Regions from separate parts of the Homo sapiens genome. Here all the other regions are linked to region 4. Evidence: promoter capture Hi-C in 16 types of primary human blood cells and fetal thymus (Javierre and others, 2016). All regions are on one chromosome and are shown on one strand. The core of a region is centred on a gene start or on the middle of the fragment in contact, and the rest is flanking DNA. Distances in the headings are between cores, read along the strand shown.

Evidence for each region. The method cuts DNA at HindIII sites, captures the fragments that hold promoters and counts their contacts. A CHiCAGO score of 5 or more calls a contact.
Region 1: a contact is called between a fragment that was not itself captured here and the fragment with the promoter of INSL6 in region 4, in 1 of 17 cell types (naive B cells). The highest score is 5.1, in naive B cells.
Region 2: a contact is called between a fragment that was not itself captured here and the fragment with the promoter of INSL6 in region 4, in 5 of 17 cell types (naive CD4 T cells, total CD4 T cells, naive CD8 T cells and 2 more). The highest score is 9.5, in naive CD4 T cells.
Region 3: a fragment that was not itself captured here is called in contact with the fragment with the promoter of INSL6 in region 4 in 1 of 17 cell types (naive B cells); the score reaches 5.3 in naive B cells.
Region 5: a fragment that was not itself captured here is called in contact with the fragment with the promoter of INSL6 in region 4 in 9 of 17 cell types (activated CD4 T cells, total B cells, total CD4 T cells and 6 more); the score reaches 11.7 in activated CD4 T cells.
Region 6: a contact is called between a fragment that was not itself captured here and the fragment with the promoter of INSL6 in region 4, in 1 of 17 cell types (activated CD4 T cells). The highest score is 5.6, in activated CD4 T cells.
Region 7: a fragment that was not itself captured here is called in contact with the fragment with the promoter of INSL6 in region 4 in 2 of 17 cell types (naive B cells and naive CD8 T cells); the score reaches 8.0 in naive B cells.

What each region holds. Positions count from the first base shown.
Region 1 is chr9:5,644,343-5,648,227 of GRCh38, reverse strand. All of the region lies in intron 1 of RIC1 (RIC1 partner of RAB6A GEF complex), which reads right to left. Among named protein-coding and RNA genes, the nearest start is that of INCR1, 17 kb to the right of the region's middle. The HindIII fragment of the contact is 2,313 bases long and covers 392-2,704 here.
Region 2 is chr9:5,566,345-5,570,134 of GRCh38, reverse strand. PDCD1LG2 (programmed cell death 1 ligand 2) reads right to left here. Exons shown (of 7, transcript NM_025239.4): 7 at 1-181. The coding sequence ends at 176. The region is part of intron 1 of INCR1 (interferon stimulated noncoding RNA 1); the gene reads left to right. Among named protein-coding and RNA genes, the nearest start is that of PDCD1LG2, 58 kb to the right of the region's middle. RefSeq lists an enhancer at 500-589. The HindIII fragment of the contact is 3,350 bases long and covers 130-3,479 here.
Region 3 is chr9:5,519,398-5,523,080 of GRCh38, reverse strand. It overlaps PDCD1LG2 (programmed cell death 1 ligand 2), which reads right to left. Exons shown (of 7, transcript NM_025239.4): 2 at 480-548. The coding sequence starts at 534. The region is part of intron 2 of INCR1 (interferon stimulated noncoding RNA 1); the gene reads left to right. Among named protein-coding and RNA genes, the nearest start is that of PDCD1LG2, 11 kb to the right of the region's middle. The HindIII fragment of the contact is 251 bases long and covers 1,204-1,454 here.
Region 4 is chr9:5,183,391-5,187,599 of GRCh38, reverse strand. INSL6 (insulin like 6) reads left to right here and starts at 1,961. Exons shown (of 2, transcript NM_007179.3): 1 at 1,961-2,286. The coding sequence starts at 1,998. The HindIII fragment of the contact is 2,408 bases long and covers 1,579-3,986 here.
Region 5 is chr9:5,624,168-5,627,776 of GRCh38, reverse strand. All of the region lies in intron 1 of INCR1 (interferon stimulated noncoding RNA 1), which reads left to right. Among named protein-coding and RNA genes, the nearest start is that of RIC1, 3.1 kb to the left of the region's middle. RefSeq lists an enhancer at 261-480. The HindIII fragment of the contact is 1,557 bases long and covers 689-2,245 here.
Region 6 is chr9:5,536,799-5,540,970 of GRCh38, reverse strand. The region is part of intron 3 of PDCD1LG2 (programmed cell death 1 ligand 2); the gene reads right to left. All of the region lies in intron 1 of INCR1 (interferon stimulated noncoding RNA 1), which reads left to right. Among named protein-coding and RNA genes, the nearest start is that of PDCD1LG2, 28 kb to the right of the region's middle. The HindIII fragment of the contact is 1,498 bases long and covers 1,553-3,050 here.
Region 7 is chr9:5,685,312-5,689,340 of GRCh38, reverse strand. The region is part of intron 2 of RIC1 (RIC1 partner of RAB6A GEF complex); the gene reads right to left. Among named protein-coding and RNA genes, the nearest start is that of INCR1, 58 kb to the right of the region's middle. The HindIII fragment of the contact is 170 bases long and covers 1,742-1,911 here.

The DNA.
Region 1 (3,885 bases), core at 299-2,798, 460 kb before region 4:
TGGATCACCTGAGGTCAGGAGCTCGAGACCAGTCTGAACAACATGGCAAAACCCTGTCTCTACTAAAAATACAAGAAATTAGTCGGGTATGGTGGCGGGCGCCTGTAATCCCAGCTACTTGGGAGGCTGAGGCAGAAGAATTGCTTGAACTCGGGAGGTGGCGGTTGCAGTAAGCCGAGATCACACCATTGCACTCCGGCCTGGGCAACAGAGCAAGAAAAAACCACTACCACTACCACCACCACCACCACCATCACCACCACCACCACCACCACCACCACCACCACCACCCACCCCCACACACACAAACAAAAAACAAACAAACAAAAACAAAAAACAAAACAACAACTTGTAACCAGCATCAAACTCAATGGTGAAAAGATGGAAAGCTTTTCCTCAAAGGTCAGAATTAAGACAAAGATGCCCATTCTTACCACTTCCATTCAACGTAATACCTAAAGCCCTAGCCAGAGCAATCAGCAAGGAAATGAAATAAAATAAATCTAACTTGGAAATGAATAAGTAAAATTATATGTTTGAAGATGACATGATCTTATATGTAAAGACTCTAAAGATTCCACAACAACAACAAACCTGTTAGAATGAATGAATTCAGGAAAACTGCAGAATACAAAATCAACACAGAAAAATCAGCAAACCGTAACATCAAAAAGAATAAAGTACTTAGGACTAAACCTAACCAAGCAGGCAAAAGACTTCTACAGTGAAAACTGCAAAATATCACTGAAAGAAATTAGACACAAATAAATGAAAAGATATCCTCTGTTCATGGATTAGAAAATTTAATATTGTTAAGATGTCAATACTACCCAAAGCAATCTACATAGTCAATGTAAGTCCTTTCAAAATCCTAACAGCATTTTTAGCAGAAACAGAAAAATCCATCCTAAAATTCATATGGATTCCCAAGAGACCTCGAATAGACAAAACAAACTTGAAAATAACAAAGTTGGACGTCTCACATTTCCTGACATCAAAACTTACTAGAAGACTACAGCAATCAAAATACTGTCGTACTGGCACAAGGATACACATATAGACCAACAGAATAAAACACAGAGTCCAGAAATACACTCTTGCATAAATAGTCAAATTATTTTCCACAAGGCTACCTAGACCATTCAAAGGGGAAAAGGAAAGAAAGTCTTTTCAACAAACAGTGCTGGGAAAACTGGATATCCACATGTAAAAAAATAAAGCTGGACCCTTATCTTATACTATATACAAAAATTGTCTCAAAGTGATCAAAACTCTAAACAGAAGACCTCACCCTATAAAACTCTTAGAAGAAAACACAAGCCAAAAACTTCATGACTTTGGATTTGAAAACAATTTCTTGGATATGATACTGAAAGCACAGGCAACAAAAAAAAATAGGTAAGACAGACTTCATCAAAATTGAAAATGCTGTGCATCAATGGCTACTACAAAGAGAGTAAAAATGTAACCCTTGAAACAGAAGAAAATACAGTCACGTGTCACTTTAACAAGAGGGGATAAGTTCCAAGAAATGCATCACTAGGCAATTTTGTCATCATGTGAACATCACAGTGGGTACTTAACACAAACCTAGACGTTATGGCCTACTACACACCTTGGCTATAAGGTATACCCTATTGCTCCTAGGATACAAGCCTATATAGCATATTACTATACTGAATACATAAGCAATTGTGCCATAATGGTAAATATTTCTATATCTAAATACTTCTAAACATAGAAAAAGTAATGCATTACACTATATAAAATTTCTATTGTCACTAGGCAAGAAGAATTTTTCAGCTCCATTAGAATTTTATAGGGCCACCATCATATAATGCAGTCTGTTGACAGGAACATCTCAAACTGCCATTACATGGAGCATAACTGTATTAGAAACCACATATCTGATAAAGGATTATACCCAGAATACATGAAGCGTTACAACTCAACAAAAAATAACCCAAGAAAAACAATGGGCAAAGAACTTCAACGGACACTTTCAAAGAAGGCATACACATGACTTACAAGTACATAAAAGATGCTCGACATTAATAACCATTAGGAAAATGCAAACCAAAACCATGACATACCACATTGGACCCAATGGAATGGCAATCATCAAAACAACAGAAAACAAGTACTAGCAAGGATGTGAAGAAACTGGAACCACTGTATTGCTGGTAAGAATGTAAAATGATGTACACTGTGGAAACACAGTATGTGGCAATTTCTTAACATTAAAAAAAAAAGCAAAATTTCTCAAAAAAAAAAAAAACCTATAGAATAACCAAATGAAACAGCAGGTCCACTTCTGGGTATGTACCCAAAAGAAGTAAAGCAGGGATCTGGATATTTGTCTACCCATGTTCACAGCAGCATTATTCACAATATCCAAGAGGTAAAAGCAGCCCATGTGTCCATCAACAGATGAATGAATAAAACAAAATGCAGTATGTACATATACAATGGAGTATCATTCAGCCTTAAGAAGGAAGGAAATTTTGGTACATGCTACAGCATGGATAAAACTTAAGACATGCTGAGTGCAATAAGTCAATCACAAAAAGACAAATAGTGTGTGGTTCCACTTGTCTGAGGTACCCACACAAATCAAATTCATAAAGACAGAAAATACAATAGTAGTTTCCAGGGACTGATGGGATGAGAAAACCAGGAATTACCATTTACAGGGTACGAAGCTTCAGTTTGGGAAAATGAAAATGAAAGTTCTGGATACTGATGGTGGTAATGGTTACATGATAATGTGAATGTACTTAATGCTGCAGAACTTTGCGAAGTATATATCTGCTAAATAATTTGTATCAAGACATATAAAGAACTCTTACAACTGAATAATAAGAGAAATATTCCACTTAAACAAAAATGGTCTGGGCATCATGGCTAATACTTGTAATTCCAACACTTTCGGAGGATAGCCTGACGATGGGAGTTTAAGACCAGCCTGGGCAACTTATGGAGACCCTGTCTCTACAAAATTTTTAAATAAGTGAGGCATGCTGTTGGGCATCTGTAGTCCCAGCTACTAGGGAGGCTGGGGTGGAAGGATCACTTGAGCCCAAGAGTTCAAGGCTGCAGTGACCCAAGATCAGATCACTGTTTTTTTTTTAAATGGACAAAGGATTTGAATAGATAATTAACTACATAGGTATAGCGAAATGGCTAATAAGATATATAAATGGAATAAGATATATAAATAGCTAATAAGCAAATGAAATCATGCCAAACATTTTTTAGTCATTAGAAAAACACCAAATTAAAGCCACAAATAAGACACCACTACAAACCCTCTAGAACGGGTGTGGAGAAACAGAAACTTCCATACATTATTGGTGGGGTTGTAAAATGCTACAGTCACTTTGGAACAAAGTTTTGCACTTTACCAATAAGTTAAACTTGCCATATGACTTAGTAGTTGCACTCCTAGGTATCTCTCTAGAAGAGTAACATTTATCCACACACAGACATGTATACAAATGTTTACAGCAGTATTACTCACAATCATTCAAAATGAGAGTATTATTCACAATGACTCAAATACCTGTCAACTGGTGAATGGAGATAGAAATGCGGCATATGCAAATAATGGAAAAATATTCAGCAACAAAAAGGAATACTACCACATGGACATAGAGTGTGGAATAACAGATACCAGACTCAGAAGGATGAGAAGGGGATAAAGGATAAGAAGTTACTTATGTGTACAATGCACATTCTTTAGCTGATGATTACACTAAAAGCCCAGACTTTACCACTGTGCAATATGTCCCTGTAAAAAAACTGCACTTGTATCCCTTAGTTTACACACATTTTGAAAAAAGAAATATTATGACCTGGATGCACCTCAAAAACATTATGCTAAAT
Region 2 (3,790 bases), core at 555-3,054, 380 kb before region 4:
TTCATGGCCAGGTGTTGGCTAGTCTTGTTGCAGGTTTCAGATTAAAGTGCTGGGTCATCCAAAGGCATTTGAAAAGTGCAAATGGCAAGCTCTGCAGGCCACCGAATTCTTGTTCAGAGTCCAGAAGCTTCTTTAGATGTCATATCAGGTCACCCTGGCTCCCAAGACCACAGGTTCAGATCTGGGGAGAAAAGCCCACAAATAAGAAAAATCATTTTTTATGATTAGAAAATATATAACCTCCCCAAAATTTGAGTGAGGAACTAATTTTTTTAAAAAAGTTCATCTAGCTGGAAGCCGCATGGTTTAAAACTTTTCATTTAAAACTTCTTTCCACAGTTTTTACCATTGCCCTAGTCCAAGTCTTCAGCTTCTCTCCTCAGACCTATTGCAAGAGCTGTTCCTCTTCCATTCTTTGGGCCACACATAGTTCAGTAATATTGGAGCACATTTCAGGGGCCTCTCCTATTCAAAACCTCTTATAGTTCCCTATTGTGTCAGATATTTCTATTAATTCCTGCAGACTCATTATTCACCCTGCTGCACTCTATTCATGCTCCAGGATGATGACATTGCAGACTGCATCACTGGGCTCCTCCCTCTGTCTTTGACTGGGCTCAGTCTAGGGGAAAAAGAGTGTTGCAGTGGGTTGAGAGAGAGGTTGGGGTATCTATTCCTCAGCAACCTCCCAGACAAGTTGTGGGTTGACTTTGTCCCTCTGTTAAAGACCATAGGTCCTGCCAGATGGACCTTTCTCATTGCCATTTTTACTAGGGTTCTGGGAACTGCTCCCTCCCCTTTCTCCTTCAGACCTAGGAATAGTCACCTTCCCTGCCTGCTCTTGCATCCTGGCATGCTCAGTATCCCTTGCTGGTTTCCCTTAATGCTGCACACACCTTTATAAATTAAACTTGCCTCAGTTACCTCTTCTAAGCATACCCTCCATTTCCTGCTAGGATCTAACTGAAGCACTCTTGCTTAGTAAGTAAAATCTAACTTTTGCCTGGAATTAGTGGTTTACAATACATGCCCTAACAGTCTTTCCCCCTTATCTCACACCTGGCTTTCTCTCTGAACGGGGTCACGTGCACTTTCCCACACCTTCCTGCCTCTCTGCCTTTCCTGTTAGTGTCTCCTCTATCTAGAAGAGTTTGCTGTTTCCATTTCTTCCTGATTCAAAAGTCACCTTCTCCATGAAAACTTTCTTCTTCCCTGATTATCCCCAGCTTAAAGTGATATTTGTCCCCATCTCTGAACTTTCATGTATTGTTTGTCCCTCTTATATGAGCCATAGAGAACCATAAAAAATACACAGACTTTTCACACCATTAAAAATTCATGGGCACAGGTGAGTGAAGCTGTTAGTGACTCCTCTTGCTAATAGCACTCTCCTCCCTCCCTGAGACAACTGTGCTGCCTGAAGAAAGAAAGTGTGAAGTTGCCTGACATGGGTTGGGTATTTCTGAGGATTGATGGTAAGGTGGGCTTCAGGACATAGGGATAATTTGAGAGCTACATGATTTTCCAAATATGTTCCAAGAAGCACAAGGTATCTTAGAGCAGTGGTCCCCAACATTTTTGGCACCAGGGACTGGTTTCAGGGAAGACAATTTTTCCATGGATTGGGTGTGGGAGTGGGGGTAGGCTATAGTTTCAGGATGAACCTGTTCCACCTCAGATCGTCAGACATTAGATTTTCATAAGGAGCACACAACCTAGATCCCTCATATGTGCAGTTCACAATAGGATTCACGCTTCTATGAGAATCTAATGCTGCTGCTGATCTCACAGGAGGTAGAGCTCAGGTAGTAGTGCCCGCTTGTCTCCCGCTCACCTCCTGCTGTGTGGCTCAGTTCCTAACAGGCCACTGGTACCGGTCTGCGGCCCAGAGGTTGGGGACCCCTGCCTTAGAGGCCTTTGTAGGGACAAATATGATATGGACAAATAGCCTATATGATAGGGTGATTATGTCCTCCACTCTAATTTCACCACTATTTTAATTTGCTTGACATGTAGGAGTTCTGTCTAATATTTCCTTTGCGAAAGGTTTATAGTGCCAAAAGAAAAAGAAATTGGAAACCACTGAAATGGGAAAGGGGAAAGGAAACACACCCATGTGGAATGCTGACGCTGTGGTCAGTTCTCAGGTGGAAGTTCTTAGAAGGAAGTCGGGATACTCATGAAAACAAACAAAACAAAACAAAAAACGTAAAGACTGGACCAAAAGTATATAGAAAGCTGGCTTCTTTTTGTTTTAACCCAAATTATGTGAATGAGAACTGTTTCTTGAGTACCTTATCGGTAATACTTAATTGTAAGAATCTTGGATGACTGATAAATTCATCCTTCTAGTTCCCACATGGCCTAACTGACAGGGTCTTGCAAATAACAGAAACTTAATACAGGTTTGTGAGTGGGTGAATGAATGAATAAATGAGTGAGTAGCACTATGCTGGGAATCATGACTTCTTTTGGTCTGCTACTGTTTCACTTAAGGAAGTCACTTAATATCTCTTAGCCCCCAATGTCATAATCTGTGAAATGAGGTAGCTAGGATACATGGTCTGTAAACTCTAACCAAGGCTTGATGACTGTAATAACTATTTTGTAAAGGATAGATGATATATATCTATGGTATCATAATCCACTCCTAAAGTTTTACTGTTTATCTGCTTGTCTGCATAAGAGGGAGAATGGCTAGGCCCAAATAGTAGCACAGATAAAGTTAGATACAAGAACAACTTCCACAAATGGAAAGGGCAGTGTGTCACAGACAAGGACTCAGTGGGTCTGAGTTCTAGCTCCATTTCTAACAGTAAGTTATGATATGACCTTATGCAAGTCACTTCAGCTCTTATATCCTTAGAGCATATCCATCACATTTAGCTGTGCTAGGAGTCTTTGAAAGGCAACTAAGACATTGGTAGGTGTCCTTTAAAGAAGGTATAGCATCGCCCTTCCTAAACTTGATAAGGACTGATGAAGAGTCCTATATAATGTATTTGGTTACTGGGATCTAGAGAGGTGAGTGGGGATGGTTGAAATGGCTTCAGAAAGTATTCTTCTTCTTTTTGAAAGTAATACATCAGGGCACTCAAAAATGTAGTGAAGTACAACAAAAATTCAGAAAACATAAAAGTAAAAAGCAATACTTGATTCCATAATCCAAAAACATGATTACAGGCATTTTCATATTTTTACTTCTGTTTTTCTGGAGGAAGGGAATATGGTGAGTCTATAAATAACATTTTTAATAGGACATGAATGATACATAAGTATATTTTTATTTTGCAATTTTCTATTTTTTTATTATATAGAAAGTATTTCCCCACATTATTATTCCTCAGAACTAGAAGTTTAAATGGCAACGTAGGGTCTATTTATTATAGGTTCCAGTTTTTTCCATGTTGTATTAGAGTAAACTAGGTAATGCTGTAGGAACAAACAACTCCAAAATCTCAATATAAAAAACAAAAGCTTATTCTTGTTCATGTTCCATGTACATTGAGGGTCAGCAGGGGACTCTGTCAATTTTAGTCACTCAGAGACTGAGACTGATGGAGCAATTACTACCTAGAATGTTACTGGTTACCATGCCAGATGGATAAAGAAAATATGGCAAAGCATATGCCAACTCTTACATCTTCTACCCAGAAATAACACGCATCACTTATGCTTACATTTAATTGACCAAAGCGAGTTACATGACCACACTTAACTACAAATTAATCACAGAGAAGTGCAATTCTATCATGTGCACAAAGGCAAGAGATCCAGGAAATGGTGAAAC
Region 3 (3,683 bases), core at 80-2,579, 340 kb before region 4:
GCTATTGTTGCTTTTCAAAAAAGAAACTCACAGAAACAACTAATAATATGCAGAATGTCTTCAAGACATTATCTTTAGAGTAACGGTGTTCCCTGGCCATTGTCTCCTTACTCTCCCTGCCAGAAAGGAAGGGGACAGCTGCTTGGCATCTCACCTTTAAGGGAACTCAACCCCTGCCCTCTTGTATCAGTTTAGATTTACATGGTCTGAGTGATCCTGTCTTCTTGTCATTACCCTCACTGGATAGTGGGAATAGATGGAGCAATATTCTCAGTCACCGTTTCTGTCAGATAGGGACATTGGCATGTATAAGCCACCATGGGGACTCTTTTTTTTTTTGTGGTGCTTGGAATAGCCCAGAAATCATACGTCCTCTCAAAGAAAGCCCTCAGCCTGAGGGCCACATTCTCATTTTTGGCTTTGGCTAGGAACCACCACCTGCTCTTCTTTCTTAAGCCTCTCCCTTTGTCCTTTCTTACCTGCTATCTGGTGAAGCTGCAATTCCAGGCTCAACATTAGCAGGAGGAAGATCATGTTCTGTATTTGATCTGAAATAGACAATTGAAAGTCTCAGGGCCTTGTGAAACTTTGCTGGGTCTTTGGTTCTTTGTTCACTTTTGAAAACAGGGGAATAACAAATCATTTGGGGAAGGTGACAGACCATGGTAGAGTGGAGCTGGGAGGAGAAGTTATAGGTTGATTTCCTGGAGAAGAGAAGATATAAATTAAGAGTAAACAAGACACTCTTTATAAATCCAAATGAGAAGTTCTTCTTCCTTTTCTAATGGCCGTTTCTGAATATGAACCAGTCCTTGTGAACCACACATATTGGCAGTTACCTGCACGTCTCATGAAGCTTTCCATAGCTTTTTTCAATAGCTGGCCCTTGAACCCCAACTTTGTTTGTCAAATGAATAATGGACACCATCTTCTTTACCTGGACTGGATGTCTGGGAGTCTGACACTTGAAAATAAGACTCCATAGAACAGAGCTACATTCTCAATAAATACTTGCTAGTTGACTGAGCAAAGTAGTCAAGTGCTTTTGAGTGCTGGAATTGAGTTTGCCCCTCTCTTGAACTACCTCTTACTAAGAGGTTTAGACAGGGAGAGTAGGGAACTGGCTCTGATGAGGGTGGGGGCTGCGAATGCCCCACCTTGGTCCTGCTGTACCTCCCATGCTTTCTCCTTTACTCTGAAGCTTTCTTTATCCATGGACTTCTTATGGTTGAGGAAAGGGACAGAGCACACAGCTAATCTGATAATGGTCTGAAACTGAGGAGGCTTTCCAACTTTTATCAGCCATGGAATCATTTCTTCAGGGGAAATCTGTTGGAGCCATACATCTAAATCAGGCAACAGCAGAGCTGCTCTGAGTGTGATGAAAAGCAGTGGAGGGTTTGGGTCAGGAGAATGATAGAACCTCATTTACATCATTAAGAGACAACTAAGCTTTGGTGTAGGCAATAGACTATTGCTGAGAGGGAGAGGTTGCTGGCAAGATTACAAGCAGTGAGATCGGTTAGGAATGTGTTTGCAGAAATGCTGATAGCTTAGAGTAGAGGGGCTAGTAGGGGTGAGAAGTGGTCTGTTGGCGAGTTTATATATTTTTTCTTTGTTTTAAAATTTTATTTTAAAAATTTCAACAGCTTTATTAAAGTATAATTGATATACGAAAGAGGGTTATATGTGTCTAAGTGTGTATATATATTTAAAACACAAACTTTTTTTAAGTGCACGACTCTGTGGTTTTTAGTATGTTCACGGAGTTGTGCAACAAACACTATTATCCAATTTTAGAACATTTTCATTACCCTGAAAAGGAACCCCTTACCCATTAGCAGAAACTTCCTATTTCCCCTTCCCTTTCCCTATGGCCCTTGGCAACCACTAATCTAGTTTCTGTCTCTATCAATTGCTTATTCTGGATATTTCATAAAAATGGAATCAAGCAATATGTGGACTTTTGTGGCTGGCTTTTTTCACCGAACATAATGTTGTCAAGGTTCATCTGTATTGTAGCATATATCAGCACTGCGTTCCTTTTTGTGACTAAATAATATTCCATTGTATGATATACCACATTTTGCTTACCCATTCATCAGTTGATGGTCATTTGGATTGTTTCTGCTTGTTGGCTATTATGAATAAAGTTCCTATGAAAACTCATATACAAGTCTTTGTCTATGTATACTTTTAATTATCTTGGGTACATATGTAGGAGTAGAATTGCTGAATTAAATGGTAACTCTATATTTAACTTTTTGAGGAATTGCCAAACTATTTATCAAATATATGATTTGGAAATATTTTTTCCCATTCTGCACATTGTCTTTTCAGTTTCTTTATAGAATCCTGTGAAGGATAAATGTTTTAATTTAATTTTGATTTTATTTAATTTTGAAACACAAATTGATTTTAAGTAAAAAAATCCAATTTATCTACTTTTTTCTTTTATTGTTTGTGCTTTAGGTGTAATACCTAAGAAACCATTGCCTAGTCAAGGTCACAAAGATTTACATCTGTATTTTCTGCTAAGATAAATATAAATGGAGCAATTGTACAGGGACAACTGGATGTCCACATGCAAAAGAACAAATTTGGAGCCTTACCTCATACCATATACAAAAATTAAACAAAATGGATCAAGAACCTAAATATAAGAACTTTAGTTCCAAATTTGTTCTACTGATTGTGGGCATTCAGTTGTGCCTGTACAATTTGTTGAGGAAATTATTCTTTCCCTATTGAACTGTCTTGGCACCCTTGCAAAACATCAATTGATCATATATATAAGGATGTATTTCTGGACTCTCGATTCTGTTTTATTGAACTATATGTCTATCCTATGTCAGTACCACACAGCGTTGATTACTGTAGCTTTGTAGTAAGTTTTGAAACTGGAAAGTGTGAGTCCTCCAACTTTGTTAGTCTTTTTCAAGATTTTTTTTTAGGGGGCTATTCGGGCTTCCTTACATTTTCAAATGAATTTTAGGGTCAACTTGCTCATTTCTGCAGACAAAGGAAGCTGGAATTTTGGTAGGGATTGCATTGAATCCATAGATCAATTTGGGGAATACAGCCAGCTGAATAATATTTAGTCTTCCAATTCATGAATACAGCATGTCTTTCCTTTGTTTAGGCCTTCTATAGTTTGAAAAAAGACCTGAAGGGAACTGCTGACAGGCTAGATATATAGTTTGAGAAAAAGAGGGAAATCTGGGAAAATTCCTAAGTTTGGGGCTTGAGTCACTAAGGCAATGGAGATGCTGTTTATTAAAATGGAGAAGGCTGGGGGAGAAGCAAATTAAGGAAGGGGAAAAAGAGTTACGTTTGTTGTAGATTTGGTTTGAAATGCCTATTAGATAGCCAAGTGGAGGTGTTTAGTAGGCAGTTGGGGTAGAGATGTAAATTTAGGAGTCATCAATGCAGAAGTGTTAAAGATTTAAAGTCATGGATATCTGCATTACATCACCTACAGAGAGATAGGAAAGAGAGTGCCCAAGGACTGAGACATGGGGTATTCCAACATTTATAGATCTTTGTGAAGAGCGGTCACCAGCAGAGAAGATTGAAAGGAAGGGTACAAAGGCAAATGGCAGTGTGTATTATCCATGCATTTTATTTTCTGTATTCTGATGCTTTGACACCTGGGGCCTTGCTGACCCTGAAGGGACTGCCGC
Region 4 (4,209 bases), core at 712-3,211:
TAAACTCCCTTTATATTTCTTCTTTGACCCACTGGTAGTTAGGAACATGTTCTTTAATTTCCACATATTTGTGAGTTTTCAAAAGTTCCTCCTTTTATTGATTTCTACTTTCATTCCATTGTGGCCAGAAAAGATATTTGATATTATTTTATTCTTCTAAATTTATTAGGACTTGCTTTGTAGCATAACATATGATCTATTCTGGTGAATGTTCTCTGTGCATTTTAGAAGAATGCGTATTCTGTTGCTGTTGGATGGAATGTCCCATAAATATCTGTTAGCTCCACTTGTTCCAAAGTATAGTTCAAGTCTTTTGATGAGTCTCTTGTGGGCAGTATATAGTTGAGTCTTTTTTTTTTTATCCATTCAGCCCTGTTTTTTGATCAAAGAACATAATCCATTTACATTCAAAGTAGTTATTGATGGGTTAGAATTTACTACTGCATTTTGTTAATTGTTTAGTGGTTATTTTGTAGATCCTTTGTTCTTTTCTTTTTCTCTTGTTCTCTTTGTGATTAGATGATATCCTGTAGTGGTATGCTTGATTTCTTCTTTTTTATCTTTTATATATCTACTATAGGTTTTGCCTTGTGGTTACCACAAGGCTTACATTCATCTCAGTATGATTAATATTTTCCGTTCTCAAAAACCTTACCTGATAAAGTTCTGACTAGGACTCATGGCCCACTATAGTTTGGACATAAGTTATTTTTTAAGGAAGGTGATTAAATTTTACTAATCTATATTATATCAACCATTTAAAAAATCCAATTGGCAGTTAATTTAACAGCATTCATGGATGCCACTGGGAAGCAGGGAAAAGATAGGGAAACGGAAAATTAAGAAAAAGACATAGAGTCAGAAGACAGAAAAGAAAGGGAGAAAAAAATAAAATTGTATAGGGAAATGGTGAGATCACTGATAAGCTTGCACCTGTGGCTTCAGCATCCTGAACCTTATTCCTGAGACAGCCACCGAATGCCCTCTTGTGGCCGATAGTACATCCTTCCACGCCAACACACTAGTAACACAGAACTTCATTTAAAATGATAAAGCTACCTATGCCGATTGCGCTTCGCTTCCCTGCCCCTTCCCTCCTAACTGAGCAAAATTATCTCACCTAAATGAGCATTTCATGCTGCATGCTGTTATTCTTACAAGGCAAATCCTCTAGGGGTCCCTGTCACAAGTTAATTTGGTAATACACAATCCTCTACATTATCTAACCGAAAGAACCAGATTTCCATCCCAGGTACCTCAAGACAGCGTCCCTACTTCTTTTTTCTGGAGATTGAGGCTAAGGCCCATGCCTCCCTGTGAACCAGTAGGATTTTTCTGAAGAAGCTTTGAACCTGACTAAACGCACATGGCCATATGCAACACTTAAACGTTTCACCACATATTTGATTGCCAGCTAAATGCCAGATCCCGGGGTACGATGGAAAGCAAGAACAGACGCAGGCCCTTGCCTTCATGAAGCGGGGGTCTCAGGAAAGAGGTTACACGCCCACAAATGGAAACAGGTCGATTAACACCGTGAAAGAGATGACAGGGGGTTTCTGTGAGGGAGACGAAGCTTTATTAACAACCTGGCAAACAAGAACGAGAAACGCATTCCAGGTGGAGGGAGCAACACTTTTTAACCTACGTTATCAGGTAACAGGGATCCTATGTTCTCACGCTTGGTGAGGAATCTCCCATTGAGGAAGGAAAGAAAAATGAATCAAACTAGGGGGTGGCGGGGTAGTGAGGGGATTTTTGGCTTTCATTTTAGGAGCCAGGGCCTGCTACCTTCGACCACCTGAGACCCCTGAGCTGGCGGGAAAGCCTTGACGCAGCCGGCGCGCGCCTTCCCTTGAAGTTCTGGCGACGCCCCCACGCGCTCGGAATTCCGCAGTGTTTGTGCGCGCCGCTCGGCCTGGCGCAGGCGCAGACAGGGAGCAGGGTCCGGCCGACCGCCATTGCACAACGCGGAGGACTAGCCTGGGGTCACAGGGATGCCGCGGCTCCTCCGCTTGTCCCTGCTGTGGCTTGGACTCCTGCTGGTTCGGTTTTCTCGTGAACTGAGCGACATCAGCAGTGCCAGGAAGCTGTGCGGCAGGTACTTGGTGAAAGAAATAGAAAAACTCTGCGGCCATGCCAACTGGAGCCAGTTCCGTTTCGAGGAGGAAACCCCTTTCTCACGGTTGATTGCACAGGCCTCGGAGAAGGTCGAAGCCTACAGCCCATACCAGTTCGAAAGCCCGCAAACCGCTTCCCCGGCCCGGGGAAGAGGCACAAACCCAGGTAAAAATCGAAACCGAAGGCATGTTTGTTCACCTCTGTATATTTCTTATTCCTGCATTTGCTCTGCCAGAAGGTGAGCTTCCCCAGGAAGTGGAATTTGTGCCTAGTACACAGCTCTTTAAAAAATTGTAAAAAACAGTGTATTGAAAATATACAAAACTTCAATGAAGCGCTTTTTTTTTTAACTTGGAGGAAATAAATGTACACTTGTAAGTCTACATATTTATGTAAGAATGTTGTTCTTTTCTGGAGTGCCAGTCATCTGGCAAACTCCTTTTTGTCCTTCAAAGCCCAACTTAAGTATCATTTTCCCTGTGAAGTCATCATTGACCTTTTCATGGCCAATGGCTCCATTGTCCTTTCTACCACAGTATCTAGCACATAGTTGTATTTGACTGTCGTCATTGGCTACAGAATCAGCCCAACCTTGTAGAAGATAAAAATGCAGAGTACCTTGTTCAAAAAAGCAGGAAAGGGCCATGAAAATAAAGGTAGTAAAATATAAAACTGTTTTCCTTACTTGTCCATATCCCCTGGTCACGTACCAGGAGATAGGCCTGGTCCGTTCTCCTATCAGGCTTCATTTAAGAGTTTACGTACTTGTATTTCATTCACTTAAAGTTTCAAAGGTAAATTTATTCAGAACAACAAAGGAACATTTAAACCAAATGCAAGGCCTGTGTGACTACATAGGTTTCAGTCCCATAAAGTCAGCCCTATATACCATACTGTATTATAGGGACTATTTCATGCATATTTTTGTCTGAAATGCTTAGCAGATGGCCTAGCACATCGCATGTGTTTAATATGCGCTGAATTTATACTTGATGCTTTCAAGCAGTCTGCAGGAAGGATATTCTTGTTCCAGATTCATTGGTATATCTTACTATGTTTTTACATTTTGTGACTAAGACATTTTAGTCCCAGTATGATTTGTCATTTTAAAAGAAATTGCACTTTGTTTATAGTGTATCCATAGGAAGAAGATTACTGCCTTTTACAGTAATTCAGTTGATTTGATTTGGACAAATCTTGTAAAAGTGAAGATTTCTGAAATTAAGGAAATGAGTAAACTATCATGCCAAAAAGAGACCCTAATGTAGAGGACTGAAAAAAGTCAAACAATGCACATTGTAGGCACTCATTAGCTTTTTTGGAATGAATGAATAGAATTTATAAAGTCACTGTTGCTGAAAGAATAAAAACTTTTAAAGACAGAAACCATGAGACTGATTCATGATCATTTTCAAACCGACCCATCAAACTAACCCACATACAAACCTCACCTTGTCCTTCTGTTATAATGAAGGAAGTGTCTCTCCCCAGTCTTCTACTTTTACTTTAGTTCAGTGACTCTCACGCTTTAATGTGCATATGAATCATTTGGGAATCCTGTTAATTTACCGACTCTGAGTTAGTAGACCTGGGGTGGGGCCTGATATTTTTCGTTTTTAACTAGCTCCCAGGTGCTGCTAGTTCGTGGCCCACACTTTTGAGTAACAAGGTCCAGTTTACTGTCTGTCTCTCTCTTTTTTTTTTCTTTTAAACTCCTCTTTCTTGTTCTTTTCTCCCAGGAGTGCAAGGAGAGCCTTCCCTTTCTGCTTTATGTTGGGTGGGCATTTCTCTCACATCAAATACTGTGCTTTCACTACCTATGCTATAATACTGTAGTCAAAATTTTATTTTTAGACCTCCAAGCTTGAGGCTGTTATTTAAAGAGAGGTTGGAATGCCTTTTCTCAACAAAGTGCTCTAAAGACAGTTTTCTTAATAAAAATGTTCAACCTTAAAACTCAGCTTGTTAATGATCCTTTTGTTTTAAGTATTATTCACACTCCCCTGGAAGAATAAATGTCATTAATAATGAGCAGGAAGCTGCAATGAAACAAGACTTGTAGAAAATAAAAATGTATCTGAAAATATT
Region 5 (3,609 bases), core at 218-2,717, 440 kb before region 4:
CTCCACTGCACTCCAGCCTGGGCAACAGAGTGAGACTGTCTCAAAAAAAAAAAAAAAAGTAGCAACATAAACAGAAAAAAGGAAACAAAGAAACTTAATTCATATTAGATATAGCATTGTAGCTGGTATTCATAACCAAATATGTAACTTTCTGTAATTTTTCTAAACATTCACTGCATTCCCTGGAAGGTGATGATAGAATCCTGTATTCCTCAAATGGAGGTTGAAACTGCCTCACCACTCACCAGCCTGTTGCGATCAGATTGTCTCCTTGGCGTCTACCCTCCCCCAGTCCAACACAGCAGCCTGGAACATAGTAAGCATAGTAAGCTGGCAGTATTTGTCAGACAAACCGTGGAGGAAACCCTGATCCAGCTGAGCTACACCATTAGACAAAGAGGCCCAGAGAGGTTTCTTAACTTGCCAATTTCAAATTGTAGAATAACAAAGTTGCATCATACTTTCATCTTAGATTCAGTTATGCACTTGGCAGAAAGAGGAAATGAAAATGTTCTAGTGCAGCAATTTTGCTGGCAGTGTTACTGAATGTTTGTCCCAGCTGTCTCTCAGAGAGTCTTTGTTCTCATGTGTCTCAAGTTTGTCATACTGTGCTCATGGGCAATTTAAGGAACTTCTAAGCAATTTTTATTGCACTCAATTTTAACCTTACTTGCTGACTTTAGAAGCTTATTCCTCTGCCACACTCCTGTGTAGCACTTAAGATTCACAAAATAATTCCAAATGCTTGTCTTGATTTAATTCATAGTAAACATTCAAGGTGAGTGACATTGGTGTGATGTTGTTATTCTCACTTTCTCAAGTGAGGAAACAGGACAGGTGTGGTAGATGTGCCTGAATTCACATGGCCTGAAAAGAACTGATGTTCTTTCTACAGATCCAGTGTGATTTCTTTCTTTTTTTTTTTTTTTGAGGTGGAGTTTCGCTCTTGTTGCCCAGGCTGGCGTGCAATGGTGCCATCTCAGCTCACTGCAGCCTCCACCTCCTGGGTTCAAGCAATTCTCCTGCCTCAGCCTCTGGAGTAGTTGGGATTACAGGCATGCACCAACATGCCTGGCTAATTTTGTATTTTTAGTAGAGACGAGGTTTCTCCATGTTGGTCAGGCTGATCTGGAACTCCCGACCTCAGGTGATCCGCTCACCTCGGCCTCCCAAAGTGCTGGGATTACAGGCGTGAGCCACCGCACCCAGCCTCCTGTGTGATTTTTTTAAAAATTTAAGGTTTGGCTGGGCGCGGTGGCTCATGCCTGTAATCCCAAAACTTTGGGAAGCCAAGGCAGGCGGATCATGAGGTCGGGAGTTTGAGACCAGCCTGGCCAATATGGTGAAACCCTGTCTTTCTGCTAAAAAAAAAAAAATACAAAAATTAGCCAGGCATGGTGATATGCACCTGTCATCCCAGCTACTCTGGAGGATAAGGCAGGAGAATTGCTTGAACCTGGGAGGCAGAGGTTGCGGTGAGCCGAGATCGCTCCACTGCACTCCAGGCTGGGTAACAGAGTGAGACTTTGTCTCAAAAAAAAAAAAAAAAATTAAGGCTTATGGCATCCCTGCATCAAGTAAGTCTATTGTTGCTGTTTTTCCAACAGCATATGCTCTTTAGGCTGAACTAAATTGTGGTAATTGCTCTGGACAGTGAGAGGGAGTGGGGGAAACCTCTAGGTCTTTCTCCCTGGCGGGGAGAAAAGGAAATATCTGACTCTCCAAAACCCTATACTTGAGAGTTCCCCTATTGTGACAAAAATGTTATTGGCTGGATTTTTCAACATCATTTCTTTTTCTTTCTTTCTTTTTTTTTTTTTTTTTGAGACAGAGCATTGCTTTGTCACCCAGGCTGGAGTGCAGTGGTGCAATCTTGGCTCACTGCAACCTCCGCCTCCCGGGTTCAAGTGATTCTTGTGCCTCAGCCTCCTGAGTAGCTGGGACTACAGGCATGCACCACCACGCCTGTCTAGTTTTTGTATTTTTAGTAGAGATGGGGTTTCATCATGTGCCAGGCTAGTCTCCAACTCCTAGCCTCAAATGATCCACCAGCCTCGGCCTCCCAAAGTGCTGGGATAACAGGTGTGAACCGCCGTGCCTGGCTTCAACTTTCAAATATCATATTTTAACTTTATTTTGTAAAATATACTGACAGTTCTCATGCCTTAGGTCTTCTCCTCCTTTTTCTACTAGTTTCCACCACCACTCCTGTCAAAATTTTTGGACTCTGTTCTAAGATTAAGCTTATGATAAAAGTTAGTAGGGGGCCGGGCAGGGTAATCACGCCTGTAATCCCAGCACTTTCGGAGGCAGAGGTGGGCGGATCACTTGAGCCCGGGAGTTTGAGACCAGCCTGGGCAACATGGTGAAACCCTGTCTCTACAAAAAATCAGTCGGCACTGTGGCATACACCTGTGGTCCCAGCCCCTTAGGCGGCTAAGGCAGGAGAATTGCTTGAGCCTGGGAGGCAGAGGTAATAGTGAGCCAAGATCATGCTATTGCACTCCCACCTGAGTGAAAGGAATGAAATCCTGTCTCAAAAAAAAAAAAAAAAGTTACTAGGTGCATGTTTTCATCTATGAAACTTATAAACTTTTTAAATTACTAGAAATAATGTTGGTAAGAGTACACATAAGAAATGGGGATACATTTATACTCTCTTGATGGAAGTATGATTTGGTGCAATTTTTTTTTTTAATATAAGGTTTGTGGTAACCCTGTGTTGAGTGAGTCTATTGGCACCATTTTTTCTAATAGCATATGCTCACTTCATGGCTCTTATCACATTTTGGTAATTCTTTCAATATTTGAAACTTTTTCATTATTAGTATATCTGTTATGATGATTTGTGGTCAGTGGTCTTTGTTGTAACTATTGTAATTGTTTTGGGGTGTCATGTACCACATCCATGTAAGATGGAGAACTTAAGCGATAAATGTTATGTGTGTTCTGACTGTTCCATCAACTGGCAGTTCCTCTGTCTCTCTCCCTTTCTTTGGGCCTCCCTATCCCCTGAGATGCAACAATATTGAAATTAGGCCTGTTAGTAACCCAACAGTAGCCTCTAAGTGTTCAAGTGAAAGAAAGAATCCCCGTCTCTCACTTTAAGTAAAAAGCTAGAAATGATTAAACTAAGTGAGGAAGGCATATTGAAAGCAAAGATAGGCCAAAAGCTAGGCCTCTTGTACCAGTTAGCCAAGTTATGAATGCAAAGGAAAAAAAGTTCTTAAAGGAAAGTAAAAGTACCACTTTGGAGAACATAGGAATGATAAAACAAAACAGCCTTGTTGCTGACCTGGAGAAAGTTTTAATGGTCTGGGTAGGAGATCAAGCAAGCTACAACATTCCCTTAAACCAGACGCAGTGCCTCATGCCTTAATCCCAGCACTGTGGGAGGCTGAGACAGGAGGATTACTTGAGCCTAAGACTTCGAGACCAGCCTGAGCAATATAGCAAGACCCCATTTCTTTAAAAAAAAATGTTTTAATTAGCTGGGTATGATGGTGTGCACCTGTAGTCCTAGCTACTTGGGAGGCTGAGACGGGGATCACTTGAGCCTGGGAGTTCCAGATTACAATGAGCTATCTGCGCCACTGCACTCTAGCCTGG
Region 6 (4,172 bases), core at 1,052-3,551, 350 kb before region 4:
ATTTTGTTGAGGATTTTTACATCTATGTTCATCAGGGATACTGGCCTGTAGTTTTCTTTTTTTGTTATGTCCTTCCCTGGTTTTTGTATTAGGGTGCTACTGGCTTCATAGAATGATTTAGGGAGGATTCCCTCTTTCTCTATCCCATGGAATAGTGTCAATAGAATTGGTACCAATTCTTCTTTGAATGTCTGATAGAATTCAGCTATGAATCTGTCTGGTCCTGGATTTTTTTTTGTTGACAATTTTAAAAGTTACCATTCAATCTTGCTGCTTGTTATTGATCTGTTTATAGTTCCTATATCTTTCTGGTTTAATCGAAGGGTTGTATATTTCCAGGAATGTATCCATCTCCTCTAGCTTTTCTAGTTTGTACGTGTAAAGGTGTTCATAGTGGCCTTGAATAATCTTTTGTATTTCTGTGATATGAGTAGTAATATCTCCATTTCATTTCTAATTGAGATTATTTGGATCTTCTCTCTTCTTTTCTTGGTTATCAATTTTATTTATCTTTTCAAATAACCAGATTTTTGTTTCATTTCTCTTTTGTATTTTTTTTGTTTCAATTTCATTTAGTTCTGCCCTGATCTTTGTAATTTCTTTTCTTCTGCTGGGTTTGGGTTTGGATTGTTCTTGTTTCTCCAGCTCCAGGAGGTGTGACCTTAGATTGCCTATTTGTGCTCTTTCAGACTTTTTGATGTAGGCATTTAATGCTATGAATGTTTCTCTTAGCACTGCTTTTGCTGTATCCCAGAGTTTTGATAGGTTGTGTCACTATTATCGTTCAGTTCAAAGAGTTTTTAAATTTCTATCTTGATTTCATTGTTCACCCAATGATCACTCATTATTTAACTTCCATGTAATTGCATGGTTTTGAAGGTTCCTTTTGGAGTTTATTTCCAGTTTTACTCCACTGTGATCTAAGAGAGTACTTGATATAATTTTGATTTTCTTAAATTTATGGAGACTTGTTTTGTGGCCTACTATATAGTCTATCTTGGAGAATGTTCCATATGCTGATGAATAGAATGTATATTCTGCGATTGTTGGGTAGAATGTTCTGTAAATATCTGTTAAGTCTATTTGTGGTAGGGCATAGTTTAAATTCATTGTTTCTGGTTTGAAGTACTTCTGTCAGCTTCAGCCCATTCCTGGTGTTGGCTCTTCCCATCCCCCTGCCCTGCCCAGGCCTTCAGGATGGTTTGGCTCTTGGTGTTCTTGTTTTTAGTGCCTCCTCTGCAACCCTGTCTGGAAACCTTTGCACAGACCAGTTCTCAACCCCAGCTCCTCTGAGAGACCCCTGGGCTCCTGGGGCCTCTCTGTTCTTTGGCCATGCTCCCGCCCCTTCCTCAGATGGATTGCCCCCAGAAATGTAGGTGCCACCTGGCTTTTCAGAAACCACAGTCCTTTATCACTGTCTCTTCCAGAATCTCCGGTCATTCCACCTCATAATTTGTTCTGTCCTTTTGAAATTAACTCTTTTCATTATATTTGATAAGAATTTCTGCCCAGACATCAACGAAGGTGCTATAAACAAACCCATTTTCAAGCTTTATGCCATGGATCAGGCACTTTAAGATAAAAACATGTCCTTCTTCTAGTCCTACTTCATTCATGGGAACCCTCATTGGGGCCTCAGATCTATCTTGCTTCTTTTAGAGACCCTGGATCAGGGTAGCCTACTCTTAGGTGATGGTCCAACTTTTTTTTTGCTTGTATTCCTCCTAAAATAAGTATGATGCAGTATGCTCTTCTCACCTATTAAGTTGATTCTTATAATTTTTCATAAGTTTCTATACTGGAAAAACATATAATGTTCAGCATCTTATGAATTTTTTTAGTAAAACAATTATTTTACTCTTACATATGTATCCAAAGGTGACTAAATATAAAAGAAGTTATCTTTTATATACAACATTATCCTTGAAAAATACATATAAATATTTAACAACAGTATATAGCTTCAAATAGCCAGAAGGGGTACATTGAATGTTCTCAACACAAAGAAATAATAAATATTTGAGATGATAAATATGCTAATTACCCCGATCTGATCACTATACATTGTATATATTGAAACATCACTATGTATCCCATAAATAAGTACAATTATTGTCAATTAAAAAAAGATAAAATACATTCACATATACCCAAAAAAATGATCTCAAAAGAAGGTGCACATAACTTCACAATTTTTTCTGCTGTTATATCTGTTATTGCTTGTAATCATGTTTTCACAATAAACTTAATGTGTCAATTTCTTTTTTTTTTTTTTCTTTTTTTGAGACAGAGTCTCGCTCTGTCGCCCAGGCTGGAGTGCAGTGGAGCGATCTCGGCTCACTACAAGCTCCGCCTCCCGGCTTAACGCCATTCTCCTGCCTCAGCCTCCCCAGTAGCTGGGACTACAGGCGCCCGCCACCGCGCCCGGCTAATTTTTGTTGTATTTTTTAGTAGAGACAGGGTTTCACCATGTTAGCCAGGATGGTCTCGATCTCCTGACCTCATGATCCACCCGCCTTGGCCTCCCAAAGTGCTGGGATTACGGTCGTGAGCCACCGCGCCCGGCCTAATGTGTCCATTTCTAAAATATATATATATAGTACAATATAGTTTCCACAAGAAAAAAAATATATGCATCTAAAACAATATTACATATTTTAAATAAGCTCTTACAAACAAAAGAATATGTATGAAACATGCTGGAATAATTTCCTGTGTTAAAAAAGGGGAATGAGACTGGAGAATGTGGAAAAAAGAGAATAAATAAATAAGACAAATAACAGAGGCTTTTTGGGTAAGGAACCTAATCTATTCAATTCCTTCTAAGTAAAAATAAATAAATTATTAAATGAAAAAATTCTTCTCTGTCTAAATTGTTTCTTTTCATTCATTGAAACTCACTTCCAATTTCACCTTCCCTACAGAATTTTATCTTAATGTAACATATTTTTGTTTGACAGATTTTGTATTGATTATCGTTATATGTCTTTACAACAACAAAATATTTATAGCTATTGAAATGAAAACTTTTCTCTTGTGACTATGAAGCTTTAAATGTTCAGGGTGTTCTGCATTAAGATCTAATTTTTTTTTTTAACAGTAAGTTTTAGGGTACATGTGCACAACGTGCAGGTTTGTTACATATGTATACATGTGCCATATTGGTGTGCTGCACCCATTAACTTGTCATTAAACATTAGGTATATCTCCTAATGCTATCCCTCTCCCCTCCCCCGACCACACAACAGTCCCCAGTGTGTGATGTTCCCCTCCCTGTGTCCATGTGTTCTCATTGTTCAATTCCCACCTATGAGTGAGAACATGCGGTGTTTGGTTTTTTGTCCTTGGGATAGTTTGCTGAGAATGATGGTTTCCAGCTTCATCCATGTCCCTACGAAGGACATGAACTCATCATTTTTTATGGCTGCATAGTATTCTATGGTGTATACGTGCCACATTTTCTTAATCCAGTCTATCGTTGTTGGACATTTATTTCTATTATTATTAACACATATTTGATCAAAATGTAAAATGTTATGAATATTGATAATTATTAAACATGAAAGATGAAAATTTATTGGGAATGTGTCCCTTAATAAGATGGATATGGCTCTCTTTTCCAAATTATTCATGAATCCGAAGAACCATATGACATGGTTGGAATGATTTTATATAATAGAATTCAGCCTCAATTCTATTTCTATTTTTCATTTTTTTGTAGCTTATAAAGGCTAAGGAATCTTGTTCGTATGAGTAAATCAATGGGAATGGAAGCAGTTTCGTTACAGCAATGCCATTTCATTCTTTGACCTGATTTACATGGCAAAAATTACTCATTTTTGATTATCAGTTATTAACTTTATAAGGGCCTCCTTCAATTTTGTTGAAAGCAGAAAATTAGATACCACATTATTTGCAAAAGGGTTTTTAGTCATAACAGTTCCATCAGGTGTCAATGTTCCCAATCATTCTTTTATTTAACACTATAGAGGGTTTTACACCCTGGGACAATGGACTATATTCATGATGAGTGAGTGGTAGGCTTAAAAGAGGAAGTGTTTTAGGGGAACCCCAAGAGCCTTGCCTGGCATGCACATTGTCAGGCTCGTCAATTTTGGGAACGAGTATTTGGGGAAGATGAGGATCTAGGAACTCACTTCCTAAAACTGCCT
Region 7 (4,029 bases), core at 577-3,076, 500 kb before region 4:
GGTGGCTCACACCTGTAATCCCAGTATTTTGGGAGGCCAAGGCGGGCAGATCACGAGGTCAGGAGATCAAGACCATTCTGGCTAACGTGGTGAAACCCTGTCTCTACTAAAAAAATACAAAAAAATTAGCCGGGCGTGGTGGCAGGCGCCTGTAATCCCAGCTACTCAGGAGGCTGAGGCAGGAGAATGGCGTGAACCCAGAAGGCGGAGCTTGCAGTGAGCTAAGATCGCGCCACTGCACTCCCCGCTGGGCGACAGAGCGAGACTCCGTCTCAAAAAAAAAAAAAAAAAAAAAAGAAATTGTATTAAAAACAGTGCTATTACATGATCATGACATACATCTGCGTCATGACATACATACATTTGTGAAGTTCAAACAACCATTTTACATTTCTGTAAGTACAAAATATTATATTTAGCTGTTTCCAGCCAAACATTTTTACGCCTAACAGAGTGAAGTGGCAGTGTTTTGCCCAAACTACTTTACAGTAATACTGAATTCCTATCATTTTAGAGGGAGGTGGGCATGTACTCAAAGTAGAACCAAAGAAAACCAAGAAATTATCCAAGGTTTCAAATTACTTTCTAATTCTGGCTTCCTGTTTTTCAAAGGAATGACCAAGAAAATACTTAGTTTCTTCAGCAAAACCAGGTGGTTTGCTTTCTTTTTGACCATTAACTTTACTATTTTATAATGTATTTGAAACTAGAGTTTCAACACTGTAAGATACAAAAACAAAAGGGTGAAAATTCTTCAGATAAGATCATCTTTCTAATTCTTTATGTGCAATTTTATGTTCTTGCAATATGGAGAGTATGGAAGCAAAAGGAAAATGGCTTCAAATCAAATCATAACAAAGGTTTCACACATAAAAAAACAAGAACAACAACAACAACAAAAACAGACAAAATCTATGAAATACTTTTCAAAACACTGGCATCAAGCAATGAAGGCCAGTCATCCTTGAGAGATAAGAAACAACTGAAGTGACCCTCCTACTCTTACCCAGCTTACTGCCTTGTGAGAATTTCTGGGTCAGCACACTTAGAAGGCGCACTAAGACAAAGCCTGGCAGACTTCCAGAGTTGAGAAGAAGCTGAAGAGTCCAGGAAGAGTAAGACAAACATGAGACATAATGAAAAATCAACCAATCAAAACAATGCATAACTCAATCAGATGTTAAAATTAGCACAAAAGGACATTAAAACCTTTTGCTATATTTCATAATGTTCCAAATGTGAACTATATTCTGTATGTTCCAAAGGTTAGGCAATATAGAAAACTCAAACAAAACTCTAGAAACAGAAATACTAAAATATCTGAGATGAAAAAGACATTGGCTGGATGAATGACAGGTTAGACAATGATCAGAAAAGCACAGCAATAAAAATTATCCATAATGAAACACACACACACACAAAAAAACCCAAAATAAAACAGAAACAAAATCAGTGAATTGAGGAACAACTTCATGTAGCCCAATATACATATAAACAGAGTCTCCGCATGACAGGGGTAAGAGTCAGAAAAAAAATATTTAATTAAATTCAAATTTCATTTGCTTCACTTAAATTTCTTTAAAAGATAACAGGCTTTAAAACAAGAATAATAGCAGTGTATGCTGGGGTTTATACCGTGTGTAAAAATAAAATGTGTATAATATATGTTTCCTGATCCCAATAGAACAAAACTAGAAACAAATAAAAAAAATTCTGGAAAGCCCACAAATATTTTGAAGCTTAACTGCATACTTCTAAATAACCCATGAATCAAAGGAGAAAAAGGGAAATTTTAAAAATACATCATCCCAAAATTTGTGGGATGCTGCTAAAGCAGTACTAAAGAGGAAATTTACAGCCTTAAAATACTTATATTAGAAAAAAAGGAAAATCTCAAATCAATGACAAGCTTCTACCTTAAACTAGAAACAAATTAAACTAGAGCAAACGAAATCCAAAGCAAGTGGTGGAGGGTGGGGAAGCATGCAAATAACAGAGATCAGAGTGGTAATCAATGAAATAGAAAACAGAAAAATAAAATCAATGAATAAAAATCTGGGGTTCTTTTGTTATTGTTTTAGAAGATCACTAAAACTGACATATTTCTGGTCACACTGATCAGGCAAAAAAGAGCCACTAACAGAAATCAAAGAGGTGATATCACTACAAATTCTAGAGGTATTAAAAGAATAATGAGGTCACATTATTAATATGACAATAATTTTAACAACTTGGATGAGATGGACAAATTCCTTGATAAACACAAACCACCAAAGTTCACTGAAAAGAAATCTGTACCCTGAAAAGCCAATGTCTGTTAAAGAAATTATAATTCCAATTCAAATCCTTTCCACAAAGAAAATTCTAGGCTGAGACAGCATCACTGGTAAATTCTACCAACTCTTTAAGAAATAAATAATATCAGTTGAATACAGACTCTTCCAGAACACCAAAGAGAAGGAACCACTTCCTATCTCATTTTATGAGGCCTCATAACAAAACCAGACAAAGACATTATAACTACAGGCCAAGATCCCTCATTAACATATTCTTTTTTTTTATTATTATACTTTAAGTTTTAGGGTACATGTGCACATTGTGCAGGTTAGTTACATATGTATACATGTGCCATACTGGTGCGCTGCACCCACTAACTCGTCATCTAGCCTTAGGTATATCTCCCAGTGCTATCCCTCCCCCCTCCCCCCACCCCACCACAGTCCCCAGAGTGTGATATTCCCCTTCATGTCTCCCTGTGATCTCATTGTTCAATTCCCACCTATGAGTGAGAATATGCGGTGTTTGGTTTTTTGTTCTTGTGATAGTTTACTGAGAATGATGATTTCCAATTTCATCCATGTCTCTACAAAGGACATGAACTCATCATTTTTTATGGCTGCATACTATTCCATGGTGTATATGTGCCACATTTTCTTAATCCAGTCTATCATTGTTGGACATTTGGGTTGGTTTCAAGTCTTTGCTATTGTGAATAGTGCCACAATAAACATACGTGTGCATGTGTCTTTATAGCGGCATGATTTATAGTCATTTGGGTATATACCCAGTAATGGGATGGCTGGGTCAAATGGTATTTCTAGTTCTAGATCCCTGAGGAATCGCCACACTGACTTCCACAATGGTTGAACTAGTTTACAGTCCCACCAACAGTGTAAAACTGTTCCTATTTCTCCACATCCTCTCCAGCACCTGTTGTTTCCTGACTTTTTAATGATTGCCATTCTAACTGGTGTGAGATGATATCTCATAGTGGCTTTGATTTGCATTTCTCTGATGGCCAGTGATGATGAGCATTTTTTCATGTGTTTTTTGGCTGCATAAATGTCTTCTTTTCAGAAGTGTCTGTTCATGTCCTTCGCCCACTTTTTGATGGGTTTGTTTGTTTTTTTCTTGTAAATTTGTTTGAGTTCATTGTAGATTCTGGATATTAGCCCTTTGTCAGATGAGTAGGTTGCAAAAATTTTCTCCCATGTTGTAGGTTGCCTGTTCACTCTGATGGTAGTTTCTTTTGCTGTGCAGAAGCTCTTTAGTTGAATTACATCCCATTTGTCAATTTTGGCTTTTGTTGCCATTGCTTTTGGTGTTTTAGACATGAAGTCCTTGCCCATGCCTATGTCCTGAATGGTAATGCCTAGGTTTTCTTCTAGGGTTTTTATGGTTTTAGGTCTAACATTTAAATCTTTAATCCATCTTGAATTGATTTTTGTATAAGGTGTAAGGAAGGCATCCAGTTTCAGCTTTCTACATATGGCTAGCCAGTTTTCCCAGCACCATTTATTAAATAGGGAATCCTTTCCCCATTGCTTGTTTTTCTCAGGTTTGTCAAAGATCAGATAGTTGTAGGTATGTGGCGTTATTTCTGAGGGCTCTGTTCTGTTCCATTGATCTATATCTCTGTTTTGGTACCAGTACCATGCTGTTTTGGTTACTGTAGCCTTGTAGTATAGTTGAAGTCAGGTAGTGTGATGCCTCCAGCTTTGTTCTTTTGGCTTAGGATTGACTTGGCGA